Regions from separate parts of the Homo sapiens genome. Here region 1 is linked to region 2. Evidence: promoter capture Hi-C in 16 types of primary human blood cells and fetal thymus (Javierre and others, 2016). All regions are on one chromosome and are shown on one strand. The core of a region is centred on a gene start or on the middle of the fragment in contact, and the rest is flanking DNA. Distances in the headings are between cores, read along the strand shown.

Region 1 (6,208 bases), core at 2,653-5,152, 170 kb after region 2:
CTTTTAGATTTTATCAAGTCCATGCTGTGTGTAAGATAACACTGGGAAGTATATAAAGATTAGTAAGGGCTTGGCCAGGTGTGGTTGCTCACACCTGTAATCCCAGCACTTTGGGAGGCCGAGATGGATGGATCACTTGAGGTCAGGAGTTCGAGACCAGCTTGGCCAAAATGGTGAAACCCCATCTACACTAAAAAGACAAAAATTAGCCAGGCATGGTGGCAGGCACCTGTAATCCCAGCTACTCAGGAGGCTGAGGCAGGAGAATCCTTTGAACCCAGGAAGCAGAGGTTGCAGCTGCGATCACACCACTGCACTCCAGCACGGGCGACAGAGCAAAACTCCGTCTCAAAAAAAAAAAAAAAAAAAAAAAAAAAAAGATTAGGCACAGTGGCTCACACCTGTAATCCCAGCACTTTGGGAGGCCAAGGCAGGAAGATCACTTGAGCCCAGGAGTTCAAGACCAGCCTTGGCAACACAGTGAGAGCCAGTCTCTACAAAATAATTTAAAAATTAACTGGATATGGTGGCACACGCCTGTACTCCAAGGATGAGGTGGGAGGACTGCATGAGCCGGGGAGACCAAGGTTGCAGTGACCCATGATCACGCCACCACACTCCAGCCTGGGAAACAGAGCGAGAGCCTGTCTAAAAAAAAAAAAAAAAAGAATATGATATCGTTCCCAGCTCTCAAGAAGCTTATATTCTAACCAAAGAAAAGTCTTCAAGGAAGAGGTAGTATTTAAGATAGGCCTTGAATGATGAGTAAGATTTATTTTATTTATTTATTTATTTAGAGATGGAGTCTCGCTCTGTTGCCCAGGCTGGAGTGCAGTGGTCCAATCTCGGCTCACGCAGCCTCTGCCTCCCGGATTCAAGCAATTCGAAGAATACGATTTAAAACCAAGAAAGAAATATTTACGAAAACATTCTACACACCTTTCATATTAAACACAATGTGACCCCAATGAGCACAATCCCCACTATGAGTTTTTACTTACAATTTCCTCATTTAAGAAAGAAAAAGGCAGCTTCTGACTGCATTACCTGCATGGAGAGTTGGGCATTCTGCATGAGAGTCAAACAGTATTTGATCCAGCACCTTGCTATTTCCCCCTTTCTTTGATGATAAAGCTCTGGCACTTCTCCTTCAGCTTCAGGAGCTAAAATATACATGTGATTTGTTTAAGTTAATGGTCACAACTGTAATTTTCATTGGGTACTGTAATTTTTTTAATATCACTTTTTCCTGACTATAAAAGTAACAGATCTTTACTGAAGCAGGGGGCTTGGGGAAAAGGGAAGAAAGATCCCCCCCCAAATCCTACTACCCAGAAGCACTCACTATTATTTTTGCATATTTCTTTCTCGCACCACAAACACTTTACTCATATCATTATCAACTCTTAGCTTCATTTTTAAGTACACCATTATATACAATTAAATAGATATTCTATTATTTAACCATTCTTCTAATTCTAACCTGGAATTTGTTGTTTCCAATTCTTTACTATCACAAAAACGTCTATGTCACACAACAGATGGTTGTGGAGAACCTGGTGCTAAACTATTCAGATGACCTGCTTCTGGGTCAGAGTGTCATACATAGCAGAGCAGCTTTCTTGCTGTAATCTACAAAGTCAGCTGTCAACACAAAGCTTTGTAAAGTTTATACACATACACACATTTTTTTTAAACTTGAAACATGAGTATAATTGTGCAAAAATCTGTCTGGATTTTGGATTTCTTCCTTAGGGCAGATTCCTAGAAGTGGAATTTACTGAGTAAAAGAGTTTACACAATTTTAAATAATTCACAACATACAGCCAAATTATTTTCAACAAATATGCCAACCAACAATATATGAGAATGCTCAATAAGAACATTTTGAAAACACTGGTCACTGTCATTTTTTCAGCTATTATGAAGAGTAAAAACAAAATAATATCTCACGATATTACTTTAAATAAAGTGAATTATTAAATAATATCTCAGCAATTTAGTTTTTATTCATTTTTTGAGACAAGTGCCTCTTAGACTTCAACTAATCTATAATTAATGTAGTTAATATATTAGGGGAGAAAGCAACTATTTACTTTGATAATGTACATTCCTTTAGCTCTTAAGAGTCTCTGCATTTTTCAGATCCACAATTAGAATGTCCATTTGTAAGGAAGACATGATGTTTCAAAATCTAAAACATCGTAAGAAGGTTGGAAACTGTTCAACAGTGAGCAATAGAATCAAACTATTTTTAAAAATAAACTATTTTTAAAGAAAATGATGAACTTATTAAAAAACCTGTTAAATGACTCAAAGACACATGTTAACTGTGATTTTCTAAGACTAAAGGAAACACTATACTTAAAAAGATGGGTATTTGGCAACATCGCTTATGCATGTAGTATTCCAACCAAAAATATATCATCTGAATCATGGCATAAGGAAACATCACACAAACCCCAGCTGGCAGTAATTCTATGAAATAACTGGCCTATATTCTTAATATTAAGTGATGAAAGGGAAAGAAAGGCTGAGGAACAATTCCAGACGAAAAATGCCTGAAGAGATGTGACAACTGAATGCATTATGCAATCTTGAACTGTATAATCCAGTACTGGCAAACAAATGCTAGAAGGAATATTATGGCAACAACTGATGAAATAGAAATATGCAGTGTAGATAAAAGAATTGTATCAATGTTACTTTTTTTTTTTTAATTTCTTTAAAAACATAGAGATGGGGTCTCACTATGTTGATCAGGCTTGTCTTGAACTCCTGGCCCCTCCCATCTTGGCCTCCCAAAATCTAGCATTACAGGCGTGGGCCACCATGCCTGGCCAATGTTACATTTCTTGAATTTGATAAATGATCTATGATTATGTAAGAAAATATTCTTCTTAGGAAATATATACTAAAGTATGAAAGGGTAAAAGAGCCTAATGTATGTAACCTTCTCTCCAATGGTTCAGAGAGAAAAATAAAATTTGATTCCAAGCGAGGAAAATACTAAAAATTGGTGCATTTAGAAGGGCATATGATAGCTCTTCTGTTCTTGCAACTTTTCAAAAGTTTAAAATAATTTCAAAATAAAACTTTTTTTAAAAGCTATGTAAAACATGCAAAGGTAAACTTACTGTCTTCTGTGGCTGAGATCTTTCCAGTTTGACCAAAAATGACATTAGCAGCTGATAAACAGTGCCTGGCCTCCATAAAGCATAGCTATTGGGGAAATAAACAACAGTGAATGCAACTATCACACAGCTTTATTTGCAACTGATACTTGCATAATTTCTTTTAATATGGGAAAAGGTATAAAATCAGATAAAAATACTACAAAGGAGGCCCTGTAGAGTTGCAGATCATTCAGAAGGTACAAAAGATATATTATCATATTATCTGGTTAAAATGTAACCTCAAAGGTTAAAATATTAATGCCCCCAAACTCTTAATAATAATCCACTCGGATTGAAAGACAACTGCCAACTGAAAGTTAGCTCTCCTTATACAATCAATAGATATACAGGAATGGCTGTCATCCTAGACTTAAACTGTCTCAAAAACTCCTTTAGGTTCAGTCTAAGTAGCCAAAATCCCATGCACAATAAATTCTTAGACTATTTACATTGTGTCAGAAGACTGAATATATATATATATATATATATATATATTTTTTTTTTTTTTTACGAGACAGGGGTCTCACTCTGGCCCAAGGCTGGAGTGCAGTGGCACAATCATAGTTCACTGCAGCCTCAACCTCCTGGTCTTAAGGGATCCTCCCACCTTTAGCCTCCAAGCCTGACTAATTCTGGGGTTTCTCTATGTTGCCTAAACAGGTCTCCAACTCCTGGCCTGAAGCAATGCTCCCACCTTGGCCTCCCAGGGTGCTGGGGTTATAGATGTAAGCCACCTTGCCCAGCCTGAGGATTTAATTTTTATTAGGTTTAGAGAGCCCCTTTACATCCTACTATACAAAGGCAAATAGGATAAACTCAGGTAAGAAGATATTCCTGTGTTCTAAAATCTTTAAACTTTACATACAATAAGGCTTCCCACCAAGTTTTAAAGTCAACAGACTTCTACAGATGAACCTTATGGAACTGCTTTACCAACACTCTTGAAGACTTCATAATTCAATTCCGGGCATGGCAAACTTCTCAAACAATTAGAGAAGATCTCCTTGTTAATAGAAACATTTTGTATTTGTCATGTAAGTCAAAGGACCACCCAGCAGAAGTTCAAAGTTAAAGTCCAACTTTTAGTTGGAAGCCACCCTCATTAAATAGAATGTCTACTTAATATTAGTAATACCTGAAAGGCTTTAAATGGTTGGCTATAACTTTAAAATTGCAGCATTAAATGTATCTTTCCATTATGGCAAATTCAGAAGCCATCTTGAGAATAGCTGGACACGTGTAGTATTAGCCCAGCAACATCTATAGATAAAAATGTGTTAAATCTTAAAAGCCAAAAGAAAGTTAGAGTTTATATAATGAAACTTTAATTATCTCTCTATAATCCAATCCCTTAACATTTATCGTCATTTCAGCTTTGTCCAGATTGGCTCCCTGTGAGCAACCACTGCTAGAACAGTGAGTGTCTTATGCCCTCTAGGTGGCTGGTAAATGTGGGACTTTAGCAGCTGCCAGGTAGGGATTCACCAAGTAGCAAAACCTCATCACTGGAATCAGATGAAGATGACAATGATATAAATGACAATTGCATTTTTAAAAACATGGTTCAAATCCCTCTTTTTGCAATACGACTTAGTTGGTTTTAACAAAAACTTAAAAAAGATTTTGGTAAAAAAATAAAAGTGCAGGGTGTGGGAGGTCTCATGAAAATTACTGCATGCTCCACATAAGTAATGCTTAACAACTTTAAATTTTAATCACACTTTAATATCTAGATATCTTAGTACTGCCAATTTCCATGGAGTTTTAAGTATAAATTAAAGTCACAGTGAATATGTAATTTTAAAGTTGCTAAACAGAATGAATAAGGGGCCTCCAACAGCTGTAAAAAAGATGTCACAAGCGGAGGCACTGGATAACACTTTGGATGAGGACAATGAAATGGATTCATGAGAATTAGTTAACTGAATGCTCTGATATATGCAGTAGCGTTACTTACACACTTGATCTTAGACCAAAGTCCTAGAAGCGATGCTGCAGTCACCACAGCCCTTTCTCTCCTGCTAATAGCTTTTCTGAATGAAATTCTGTGGGACAATACTTTAATCATCGGGCGCATTTACAGAACCAACGCTAACGAAATGCTCAAAAAGGATAAAGGCCCAAGGATAAGGCAGCGGGTTACCAGAGAGATGAAAGAAGGAACTCTGATAAGCAGAGAACTACCAAAATTTCAGAGAGGCTTGCGAATTCGAAATATAAATAAAAGTAATTTATATTGCTGAGATGTCTTATTAAGGATTAATAGGAAAATCTGGTTAGAAAAGGTGGTGTAAAATTATTTTAGCATTAAAAACTCTCAAGGATTAAAGGAATAAATGGGTCAATTAAGAGTACACCAACATGATGTGAGCAATGCTTTTTTAAATTTTTATGAGAAATTCTGATAAACAACTAAGAAGCTCAAAAACATTGTCCCTGTGTAACAATCCAAAAGAAGTATGGTATAAAGACCTAGAACTTTGGAACTCAGCAGACATATTTCCAACATTAAAAAATTATTACAGAGTTAATTCTGAAAAATAACTGAAATGCATCACATGCTTTTATCAAAGCCCACATTTAACAGTCAACTTCCTCAGTCAAATTCTCAGAGTTATGAGATTACCATTACGTAAAGATAAAGCTATATCTACAAGGTAAAATCTGCAATTTAAGGTAATATCTCACTAAAATGAGTTGAGATAGCGTGCCTATGTTAAAAAAAGAATTGGTCTTAGGTAACATGTAAAACAATGATAAAACTCGGTATTTTAAAACTCAAAATAATTCATACAACAAAAAGCTACAAAATTTTAGTACACGGGCAAACTGGGCTGCATTTTCGGCTTCAGTTGTACATCATAAAATACAAGCTACCTGTTTTTAAAAGATAGTATTTTCAAGGTACTACTGGTTCTATTTTTATACTCACTATTGGTACTCTGTTAGATAACTACTTCAAGAAGCTTACCTTATTGATGTAAAACTGTGACAAGGTAGCAGCATTGATAGCCCACTCTATAGGATGGTAG
Region 2 (5,809 bases), core at 2,796-5,295:
GGGATTACAGGCGTGAGCCACTGCACCTGGCCAACAGTTTCTTGGTATCAAGGGTAGAAAAACCAATGACAAATAAAAGATTGGAAAAAGGCACATGCCATCATTGCTTGGGAAAATTCTGCTGACCTATAAACTCGATACAAACTAAAGACAGATCACATTTATTTAGAATTAACCTATTTTCTGTGACTAATACTACGGTGTTATATAAGATTCATGCTGCTTTACTCAAATTAAAATGCTTCCAAAATGTGAAATTTCTCATTATGCTAAGTAAAAGAAACCAGTTACAAAAGACCAATACTATATGACACTATAAATATGAAATACACAAAACAGGCAAATCAACAGACAGAATGTGGATTAGTGGTTATCTGGAGCTAAAAAAAAAAAAAAGACACTGGGGACTGGGGAACTAGAGAGTGACTTGCTAACAGATATCAGGTTTCTTTTTAGGGTGATAAAAATGTTCTAAAATGAAATTATGGTGATGATTGTACAATCCTGCAAATACACTAAAACCCAGTGAATTATACACTTTTAAAGGGTGAGCTTTCTAGTATGTAAATTAAAATTGTATCTTTCTTTTTTTATTTGAGACAGGGTCTCACTCTTGTCACCCAGGCTGGAGTGTGGTGGTGCAATCTCGGCTCACTGCAACCTCTACTACTACCCAAGCTCAAGCAACCCTCCCACCTCAGCCTCCCAAGTAGCTGGAACTACAGGCACACACCATCATGCCTGGCTAATTTCTGTATTTTTTGTAGAGATGGAGTTTTGCCATGTTGCCCAAGCTCGTCTTGAGCTCCTGGGCTCAAGCGATCCACCCTCCTGGGCCTCCCAAAGTGCTGGGATTGCAGGCACGAGACACTGCGCCCAGCCTAGTCTTTTTAAAAGAACATTCTGACTGCAGGTAGAGAATAGAATGAAGGGATCAAAGGCATATGAGGAGACACATAAGGGGCTATATGTGCAGTCCAGTCAAAAGATGGAAGCTGGCAATTTAGACTAAGCTGGTTGCAGTGGAGAATGAGGGAAATGAATGAATCCAACATTTATGAGGTAGAATCAACAAGACTCATTAACTGGGCTTTCTCTGATTGTTAGATGTAGGGGTGAGGGATGGAAGAACAAAGACTACCAGGTTTTGACCTGAGCACCTGCAGGAGCAGGCTGAGGGGAAGGTAAGTTGTCTTGACATGCTAAGGTGAGGTGTGTGTAAGAAAGACAAGTGGAGACACCTGGTAGGCAGCGAGATATATAGGTCCAGGGTGAAGGAGAGAGGTCCAGGGTAGAGACAAAGATCTGAGAGGAATACTGAATTAGTGAGGGGAGAGAGAGAATGAGACACCCCATAGACAGCACAGAATAAGGCAGCAAGGTGACGCAGGACAAAGCCTTTAAGTACCTCAACTTTTTGGGTTATGAGTAGGCAAAAGAGATTGAGAAGTGACAGCTTCTTGTCCTGATTGCTAAGCTAAGTGGAAATCTGACACCTTAACCACATGGCTATATCAGAGTGTAGTAATGCACCATCTTCTGTAGCCCCTCCTGCCATGCTGAAAAATCATTCTAGTAAATTCAACATCTGGACCAATCCCAGTCAAAGGAGATGAAAAATCACCTGGCACACAGACCCAATGAAGTATCTAAGGATTCTCCACCAGAAGAAAATCTAGTGCTGACAAACCCATGTCTTTATTCTATCTTCTTACAGGAAGCAGCAAAGACATTTACATTTTCAGGTGAATTGGAATAGCTGCAGAAAATAAGAATTTATCAATATTTGAATACAATAAGGCAAATTATCTCATCCAAATTACCTTATGCCTTCAAATAATATAAAATAATGGAAAATTGTTCTTTAATGGGTAAACTATTGTTTGAGTTTCAACTCTGCAAGATGAAAAAGTTCTCATCTATTTCGCGACAATGTCAATATACTTAACGCTAGTGAACTATGTGCTTAAAAACAATTAAGACTGGCTGGGTGCAGTGGCTCAGGTCTGTAATCTCAGGGCTTTGGGAGGCCATGGCAGGAGGATCCCTGGAGCCCAGAAGTTTGAGACCAGCCTGGGCAACATAGCAAGACCCCATCTCTACAAAAAATTAAAAAATTATCCAGGCATGGTGATGCACGCCTGTATTCCTAGCTACTTAGAAGGCTGAGCCAGGAGGATTGCTTGAGTCTGGGAGTTGGAGGTTACAGTGAGCTATGATCATACCACTATACTCCAGCTTGGGTAACAGAGCAAGACCCTGTCTCTAAAAAAAAAAAAGTAAAGAAAAAAAAACTAAAAAAAAGCTTAAAAGAGTAAATTTTATGTATTTTTATAATTTAAAAATAAATAATAGTATAATTACATTATTAAAATAACACATTCTCTGCTATGGTTTGAATGTCTTCTCCAAGACTCATATTGAAATTTAATTGCTATTTTAACAGTTGAGAGGTGGAACCTTTAAGAGGTGATTAGGACATGAGGAGTTTGCCTTTGTGAGTGGATTAATGCCATTATCACAGGAGTCAGTTATCACAGGAAAAAAGGATAAGTTCAGCCCCCTTTCTCTGTCTCACAGGCTCATTTGCCTTTCCACCTTCCACCATGTGATGATGCAGCCAAAGGCCCTCATCAGATCCCGGCTCAGAACCATGAGTCAAATACACCTCTATTGTTTATAAATTACTCAGTCTCAGGTATTATGTTATAACAGCAGAAAATAAAGACAGTCTCCCAGCACCAAGTAAAGTGAAAGGCCTTGCTTAACACTGGAAGAATATGTCAAAGAATAACATATACTGTGAGTTCCATCACATGTTTAGTGAAAGTACTGTACTTCTGCTCTGAAAAACATATTGTAGTCTATATTTTAGATTTACAATAGGAGGCACCAATGTCGCTTGTTGAAGTGAGACATTTCTCCTCCTATTCCTGGAGACAATTCTGGATAGCATTTCCTCAATCTCCCAGTTTCATATGGTCAGAGGAAACTCCCTTACCTCCCTAATCATCCCGAAACTCACCTTGAAAACATTCACATGCCTCTCTGTCAACGAATCCATCCAAACTTAAGTTTTGCTGAGCAAAGCCCGCTGCCACTAACTGATGCTACCTCTTCTTTTCTCTCTGGAGCCGGGGACACCCTACCTTGTTCTAGACCTTGTCATGTTCTACCTTGTATTACAGTTCACTTTCCATACACGTGTCCTCCCCCACGATACCGTTACGTTTCTTAAGAGGGGATCTGGATCTGAGTCTGGTTCCTCTTGGCAACCACCACACAGCCTAACAGCGTGGTATGAGTCGGCGCCTCCTCAATGATAAAGAATCCTAAAAGGAGTCTCCGCTGGCTTTTCACTGCCACATCCCATTCGGGGGTGGGAGAGAAACAAAGAATGCAAGAAAGAGCGGGCGTCCACCTAACAACTCAAAAAAGTCAAATCTTCCCAACACATGAGTGTCTAAACCATTCAGAGAGCAGGGCAGTAAAAGGGAAAAGGCCGCTTCTGGGACGAGGCGTTAAGAATTAATCAGATACAGTCCTAAGCCGTTTGAGGGGCTCACACACCAGCGAAGGAGGCAGACACTGAGAGGCACGATGACAACACTCGATGGGACCTCGGATCCCCAGGGGAAGGGGATGTAGCTTCCTCCCAACCAGCCTCGGCCCAGCAGACACCACCCTCTGCCGCCCTCAGTAGTTCCCGCACTCACTCTTGTCCAGAGGCCGGGTTAGCTCGGCCCCGACGTCGCCGTCGGCGCTGGGGCCCTGAGGTTTCACAGTCAGGGGCACGAACAAGGACGTGTTTGGTATTTTGGAGCCACCGGAGGCAGAGGAGGAGGCGGTGGCAAGGACAGAAACTTGCCCCAGAACCCCGGGAAAGGGCCCAAAGTGGGGACGAAGGGCAGAGCAGATGGCTGCCCGGTGGCCAGCCTGGCGCCCCGCCGGGAGCCGAGCCCACAATAGGGCACGGGAGAAGGACATCGAGGCCGCAGGTTCTACACTGTCTGGCGCAGCCGCGGACACGGCGGCGGACAGTGACGCGCACCTCCAGCGCCTGCTGTCCAGAAAGACCCAGGCCGAGCAGGTAAGCTGCCCGGGAAAACGCCTGACCGTTAAGGAAAACGCCGTGCCGTGAGGGTGTTCTTTCAGGGAAAAAGAAGATTAGCAGGCAAAACCACTAGAGATAATTCTCGTTCTCTTTCTCTGTTTTGTTGGTGATTGGGACCACCTTTCCCTAAAGAAGGGAAAATAATCAGGCATCTTTGGGATGTCATACATGAGCGGAGGGGGCCTGCTAGTCGTGTCACGTGATGCAAACTAGTACTTTGGTAAGCAAGTGTCCAGAAGCACGTGGGTGAGCAGTGAGAGAATGGGTGGTGGAGCAGCAACTGCGAATGCTCAGGGTACGAGTATGTCTTGCGGACTCAAACACTAAATAGCATTTCCCAAAAGTTTCTTGCATTGTTAACCGTCATTTCCTGATATGATAACGTTAGCGATAATAACTTGATATGCCCCTCAGAAATGTTGCTAAGAAATATTGTTGCACTATTAAACCCCTTGTATTACGTAAGTACTTTTGCTTTAATGTGAGCAGTTTGCGTACATCATCCTAGCAGCTATGACCACATAGTTGTGACCACATGGCAAAAATACGTGCTCTGTACCCCAGCCATAGTTTCGTTCCATTGCATTTGTTGAATACCGTGTTCTCATGTGAGGCTGCAACATGTTAAATTCACAAGTTTAACCCGGGCGTGGTGGTTCACGCCTGTAATCGCAGCACTTAGGGAGGGCGAGGCCGGTGGATCATCTGAGGTCAGGAGTTCGAGACCAGCCTGGCAAACATGGTGAAATCCCCTCTCTACTAAAAATACAAGAATCAGCCGGGCGTGGTGGTGCACACCTGTAATCCCAATTACTAGGGAGGCGGAGGCAGGAGAATCGTTTGAACCTGGGTGCCAGAGGTTGCAGTGAGCCGAGATCGGGCCACTGCTCTCCAGCCTGGGCAACAGAGTGAGACTCCGTCTAAAAAAAAAAAAAATTCACAAGTTTAGCATCTCCATCCACATCTCTTTATACTTACATCATTAAGATCTTACAACTTGAAGGAACGTGTTATGTAATATACAATACTGTATGTCTAATAGGATTCCAGTAACAATTTGCCACGTGCCTTTGATTCACAAAATAATTTTTAAACATCAGGGATACAAGGAGACAGTCCTTTGCTTTCAAAGGTTCTGATCTGGTTTTGGTGGTAAGAACAGTACACGTTAAATAATGCACTTATTACTCTAATAGACTAATGGCAGTTCAAAGAAAGGAGCAATTTGAGAGTGGTAAGGAGATTTCTGCCAGACTTAAAAGTAAAACATAGAGAAGCGGTAAGTAAATTCTAGTCAGTGGAAACGATGTAAGCAGAGGCTTAACTAAGGAAAAGACATACTGAAAAAAATTTAAGTAACAGAGTTAACGCAGACCTAATTCTATGGCTTACAAATAGTGATTATATTTTTGAGAAGAGAAATCATTCATTAGGAAGTACCTAGGATAGACTAGGATAAACACAAATATGCAGGGAGGAAAATTACAACTTTATCAACAGTTCTAGCTGAAGGTGGTAGATTCCTGTGTCTGAGTTATGATGGAGACCATGTATGTGGAATGAGAGGTTTTACAAGACTCCTTAGATAATGTAGTGAGTGACTAAATATGCTAGAAAATGTTAATAAACAATGATGTCTCGTCAGATTTGGAAACTAGGAGAATGAAGGATAAACCAAACGTTTAATACGTAACT

What was found. The method cuts DNA at HindIII sites, captures the fragments that hold promoters and counts their contacts. A CHiCAGO score of 5 or more calls a contact.
Region 1: a fragment that was not itself captured here is called in contact with the fragment with the promoter of SUPV3L1 in region 2 in 1 of 17 cell types (naive CD8 T cells); the score reaches 5.4 in naive CD8 T cells.

Annotation. Positions count from the first base shown.
Region 1 is chr10:69,005,855-69,012,062 of GRCh38, reverse strand. It overlaps KIFBP (kinesin family binding protein), which reads right to left. Exons shown (of 7, transcript NM_015634.4): 4 at 6,148-6,208; 5 at 3,138-3,222; 6 at 1,048-1,163. Among named protein-coding and RNA genes, the nearest start is that of KIFBP, 20 kb to the right of the region's middle. The HindIII fragment of the contact is 4,484 bases long and covers 1,661-6,144 here.
Region 2 is chr10:69,178,470-69,184,278 of GRCh38, reverse strand. It overlaps SUPV3L1 (Suv3 like RNA helicase), which reads right to left and starts at 4,045. Exons shown (of 15, transcript NM_003171.5): 1 at 3,717-4,045. The coding sequence starts at 3,987. RefSeq lists an enhancer at 3,961-4,330. The HindIII fragment of the contact is 6,235 bases long and covers 2,308-5,809 here.